Linked DNA regions of Homo sapiens: region 1 is linked to region 2. The links are contacts of gene promoters, found by promoter capture Hi-C in blood cells and fetal thymus (Javierre and others, 2016). All regions are on one chromosome and are shown on one strand. Each heading gives the region's core, a stretch centred on a gene start or on the middle of the fragment in contact. The rest is flanking DNA. Distances are from core to core; before and after follow the strand shown. Region 1 overlaps RICTOR (RPTOR independent companion of MTOR complex 2). Region 2 holds the start of HMGCS1 (3-hydroxy-3-methylglutaryl-CoA synthase 1).

Region 1 (2,905 bases), core at 167-2,666, 4.2 Mb before region 2:
GTTAGAGTTCAAATCTACATCATTTTGGAACCTTTCTGCTTTTCTAGGTATTAGACAGCAACCAAGAGAGTCAGTTTTTTAGTTCTTAGTGGAAACGTAAAGGAGTTAATCAAAAATTATAAAATTCAACTATACTTTTAAATAAATTATATTCTAATAATTATATTTGAACTAGTGTGTCCATATTCTGGGAATTCACTTTGAACACAATAATTAAAGTATACCAGGAGGGGTTTACCCAGGAAGAACACTGTATCTTTTCAAGTGATTCAGTACCAGTAAAGAGATGCACTACTGGACTGATAAGACAGTCTATCCTTGCAGTACAAATGGCGAGAGGAAGCATTTGGGCTTCAAAATACATTTTGGCATGCATTACAGACAGTATTTAATAATATCATTAGCAAATATTGGGGACTTTCACAAATTAAGTAGTTGTCTGAACAAAACTCAGAGCAACCATTACCAATACGCTGACTGTAAAGTCTACTATAATGAAGTTCCTAAACTAGATAAAAATTAATCCATCAACAATTTTTAACTGAGGCACTCTATGTATGAACCACAGCACTAACACAAGTACCAAAACCAACGAAACTTAGAATTCTTCTGAGCCTCAAGAAGCTTGCAAGGCTAGCCAAGTCATTATTAAATAGTATGAAATGTCCTGGTGTCAGAGACAAAAATTCTAAGGTTCTATGAAATACAGTATCACATTTTATCCTAAGTGAATATAACATACTGCACTTCGCTTAGACTTAATTTATTGGTAATGTCACAGATTGCTTTACAATTGTTATATTCAAGAACTCTAACTCAGATAGACTATACCCAATTAGTATAACAGTATGTTTCAAAAAAAAAAGAAGCTCGAATACCATAATTCCTTATTAACAAGTTTATAATATTCAAAACAACCGTTTAAAGTATTTTTAATGTGAGTTTTAAAACTGTGATTTCACAATGTAGGAAGGCAACTAATGTTAAATATCACTTACAAAGTATCCGGTCTTATGCCAAGTACTTTAATTAAGAACTAGCTCATTTACTTTTCACATTCTTAACCCTTTGAAGTTATCTCTTATTTTAGAAATGAAGAAATCAGGGGTAAAGCAAGGTCAAATAACTTGCCCCAAATCACCCAACTATTAAATCTCACAGCTGAGGTTACAATCCAGAATGATTTGACTTTATAGTCAACTCTCTTTTCACTACACATTGATGGATCCTTTAGGGATTACAATGACCATGTCCTCTATTTTATAATGAGCTTTATTAGGTAACTACACAATGAATCTCTCAAAGATTAAATTTAAAAAATAAGAATAAAAGCAAACACTGCCTTGGCATTAAACAAAAAAATTTTTGGTTGCCCAAACTTTATCTTTTTACATACTGTAATCTAATCCACAAACAGCTGCCCTTCAGCTGCAACCCAAACTGCCTCACAGTTCTCAAATTATTACTAAACTTTAATTCCTCATGAATTTTCTTCAAGCCTTCTTTGAACAATGAAATGTCTGTCACAACAGCAACTTTTTAAAACAATAGTATCACTATAAAATGACTGATTCAGATTAATTCCAAACTTCCTTATGATTTAGAAATACAGATCTCAAACAATCCCTCACTCTTTATTTTTGCAATCAGTTTTAAATGGCTGTGTATACTTTATTCCAAACTGAAGTACATTTTGTCAGGGCAAGCCGAAAACAGCATTTTCTGCACTATCTATATTAACCTGGAAATACCTATGGACATAGGTGCTTACTAAATTCTCAGTTAATATGGCATTTTAAATAGTAAACAGTTACCTGTGTGCCTCAGTAAAACTGGAGTAAGCCAAAATTATCAAATCAGATGTGTACCTAAGCTCTTCCACAACTCAACATTTTTGACACCAAGCAGAGAAACCACTATATATAGGAGCTCGACGAACTCAATTTAAAATACAACTATATATTTCCAGCACCACATCTGAGCAGGTTTTTAATGCACAAGTTAAACTCAAGTTTATTAAGGGCTCCCTTCACCTTCATCTAAAACACATATGCCTGTATATAAATTAAATCACTCACTAATTACATCTTTTACAGACCTGAAATTGTAGAAGTTATCCTTGTTAGGAAGTTTTCTAGTGAATCTATTTTATATAGATTTTTCACATGTGTGTTATAGTCAAGTTTCCAAACAGTTGCACAGAAGTCAAAAGCTTTACATCTTTCTATACTAATTCTCAAAACCGATCTGCTGAAAAAAATGGTGGAAATTAGTGCATTGATAATCTAATTAGTAGCCATTTTCAGGATTTAAGCTCTACTATATTGTATTATATTTTAGAAACTGTCTTGTAAAAGGACCTAGTTCACCCAAAACTAAGTCCCTGAACTTTCAGAATAAAATATTAAGTTATAAAAATGTACTCTTGTAGCTAAGTGAAAGCTGACCATTCAGTTTATAAAACAGTAATCTTACATCGTGATAAGCAAAATAAAACAAATTAGAAAATGCACTATGCTTTCACTCTAGCCGTTGTCAACAAGGAGCCCAGCTTTAACAAATTACTGTAGATAACAGTCATTACGTCAGGTACGACATAGGGTAAAAAACTGATCTCATACAGAATGTCTACAACAAGTTTTTTTGTTTACTTCCTAAGGTGTTTTATAGACCTCAGAAACTGATTCTGTACAGCTGAACCGGGTTACACTCCAAGCTACAGCCCGTGTGAAATATGACTTCGTCGGAATCAGTAGGCTCAATCCTGTTTACCGTGGAAGAGAAAAGAATCTTGTACGTAACTACTAAATCTTCAACGAGATAATGTCGAATAAACTCTAGTACTGTAAGTGATAGAGGAAACACTGGCTAGTAACGGGATTAGGTCATTAAAAATATCACCCGA
Region 2 (2,932 bases), core at 259-2,758:
AGAACCGAATAAAGGGCAAACTTACAAACTTAGGTGAGAAATATCTACAAAGGTAGACACAAAGAAAGCCTTTCTCTCTTCCCATAAGGTATGCTATCCCTGCCCCCTTCTTCACACAAAAATAACTGCAATTTTAAAATAAAGTTTAAAGAACACAAGCTGCTTAGGTGTCTCAAGTGCAAAGAACTACTGACACGGATAATGTTAACGACTTTCAACTGCCTCTCATCTAATAGTATCTGTGCAATAAAGTCCAAAACACATCTCAGAAGGAAAAATCTGTTAACTCTAGGAGCACTTCCATTTGTCTTAATTTTGTTGTTTATCTTGTCATTGTTTTTCATATTCATGCCTAAAACAGAGCAAATGTTAGTTAGCAGCAACCAGAACACATCATCCTACTGCAGCAGGTGGCAAGAGCATCCTCGGGAAGGTGGGGAGCTGCAGCAGAGGTGAGCAGTGAAAGCAGCTACTGATGCCTTAAGGCTAAGGCCATAGGGACAAGCATGACAAACAGGCACAACCTCACATTATTTGTTCCCCAAATCCCTCCTCCAGAGTGGATCAGAATAATCGTTTCTCTACCACTGGTCAAGGCCAGACGTGGGTTTTCAAAGACTCCATATACTTGCTTTGAAATATCCTTAGCTTAATCCAAAACCTATTTGTGGGAGGACTCTGTGAGTGCCTGCCCATTACACTGTATCACCTAAAGCTGGTCCCGAAGGTATTAGTAGGAGAGAGATGTGGGATTTCAGAACACCAAGGAAGCCTATTTTTTAAAACGTAGACAAAAAAAAATATGGAGGCAGGAAGGCGGGAGGCAGTGATCTATGAGATTTGAAGCAAGTACAGACTGAGCCCCAGTACTTAGCCAGGTCTAAATCACGGTTGTGAACGCTTTCTTGCACCTGAGCTGAGGAAGAAAAGTAATGCTACCCACTTCCCTTCTTTCCATCAACTCTATATGTGGCAGCAGGACACACCCCCTGCGAACCTACCAGCCTCCGTCTAAAGAGGATCTTGCCCATCCTTTGGCGTCCACCCTTAACCAACGCTCTGGAAACGCCTTGGTAGCCCAACTGTCTTCTCTCCCCCTCCTGACACCCCCCACTCACCTCTAGGCGGTCACAGCTGCCTCTCTGGCACCTCCAACTCCTCTGTCGTTAGAATACCTAGACCTCAACGCCCTCTCGCGTTCTCCCCTCCGCGACTCGCCTGTGTTCTCGGATCTTCTCAGATCCGCTACGGTCGGCCTCAGGTCCCTCACGAGGGAACCCCCGCCCGGCCCCGCTCACGGTGCCCCATCCTCCCGGGCAAAGTCCACGCCTACGTCCTGACCCAGAGCCCCAGCTCCTTCGGGCCTAGTCAAGGACACCGCCTCTGTCTGGCCCACACCCCGCCCGCGGCACCTCCGCAGCCCAGTTCTACTCCCCAGCGCGGGACACTCACCAAGCGTGACCGAGCGGCAGCAGAGGAAAGGGAGTGAGCCACGAAAGGACAGTCCGCGGCGCCTCCCCTTCGCCACCAGCTTTATAGCCGCCAACCCACCCGACTCCGGCACCGCCGAGAGTCGCTGGGAGGCGGGACGGTGGCTCCCACAGCCAATCGCGGCCGGTAGAGTTGCCCGGCAGCGCCCGCCCCCCAGTCCGGCTTCTACCAATCAAAAGGAAACTAGAGGCGATGACTCGCTAGGATTTTCCCTCGTGGCTGGAAGGGCGGGGAGAAGAGGCGGGGACAAAGTCTCAGGGCCGAGGAAGTGGTGTGAGAGACTGACGTGAGGTGGCACGAGAGCCCAGTTGCCAATGACGGAGCTGCGAGATACGGCGAGAGCCAACGGGAGCGGAGTGAGAGGTTCTCCGACCAATTGGGACTAAGTGAGAGGAGATGCGGGCCAATGGGTACTCCGCGTCCCACCGCTGGAGAGATGGTCAAATGTGGGAGGCGAGGTGGTCCCAGCTTGGGAGTCTGTCAGGTTGCCTAGCAACCAGAACTAGGCTTCACCTGAAAGATTTCTGAAATACTGTACTTGATTTGAATTCAGTCTTAACGTTTTCTAGCAAAGTGTGCGTAGATTGCAAATTGGAGCAGAATACTTCACCCAGAACTTGTATATGTGTAAATAGTCTAAATACCCGATTTGTAAATACTCAAATATTGTCTCCTTTATTCAAAACTACCTTGACTTAAAGAAAACAGAACAAACAAAAGTGCTCTTGAGACAAAGCTTTCTAACTAAACCTAAAACAAAATGGTTTCAGGATTAGGCATCCGTGGGGAGGGTGCAGAGCCTTGCCTGTGAAGGGAAGTTGATACTGAATTCAAGGATTTTTGCCAGGCCATGCACTCTGAGGAAAGGGACTCCATTTGGCCTGTTGCCCACTGTATCTTCTAAGCTTCATATGTGGTACCTGCCAAGTAAAAGGCTGTGGAAAGGCCACGTAATTGTCGGCATAGTAAATCCATCGGATACGGACTGCCTAACTCCCCCAGCAAATAGAGAGGAGCAATTCAAGCTAGAGGAATTCACTGAAACACTATTTGGGGGAATCCAAAGGAGGACACTTGTGGCTTTGCAATAAACTCTGCCTCTATCTGGTCAGAGAGAGAAGCCATAATACTTAGCTTTGGTGGGGGACCATGAGTGAGGTTCGGAGTTGTTTGTATCTCTCCCCATCTCAATTTAATTAACAGGAATGCTATTGATAAGGGGTCATTGGTAATTCTGTGATTCACACAATTATTGTTATGGGAGATTCTTTTAACCACTATAGATGCTAACCTAGTAAGACACATTCTCAGCAGCAAAGTGGCAAAATATATTGGAAATGGAACCACTGTGAAGTGGTGGCATAAATGACTTGGGGGAAGAGGACCACTCAGTAATGATTTCCATTCCACAGTATTGCCCATGACTCACTTCATATGTATG

Evidence for each region. Contacts are between HindIII fragments. The CHiCAGO score rates a contact against its expected background, and 5 or more counts as called.
Region 1: a fragment that was not itself captured here is called in contact with the fragment with the promoter of HMGCS1 in region 2 in 1 of 17 cell types (monocytes); the score reaches 5.1 in monocytes.

Annotation. Positions count from the first base shown.
Region 1 is chr5:39,070,493-39,073,397 of GRCh38, forward strand. The region is part of intron 2 of RICTOR (RPTOR independent companion of MTOR complex 2); the gene reads right to left. Among named protein-coding and RNA genes, the nearest start is that of RICTOR, 2.5 kb to the right of the region's middle. RefSeq lists an enhancer at 2,740-2,905. The HindIII fragment of the contact is 1,588 bases long and covers 623-2,210 here.
Region 2 is chr5:43,311,904-43,314,835 of GRCh38, forward strand. HMGCS1 (3-hydroxy-3-methylglutaryl-CoA synthase 1) reads right to left here and starts at 1,509. Exons shown (of 11, transcript NM_001098272.3): 1 at 1,453-1,509. RefSeq lists enhancers at 1,279-1,418, 1,669-1,898, 1,905-2,421, 2,422-2,932. The HindIII fragment of the contact is 3,835 bases long and covers 1-2,225 here.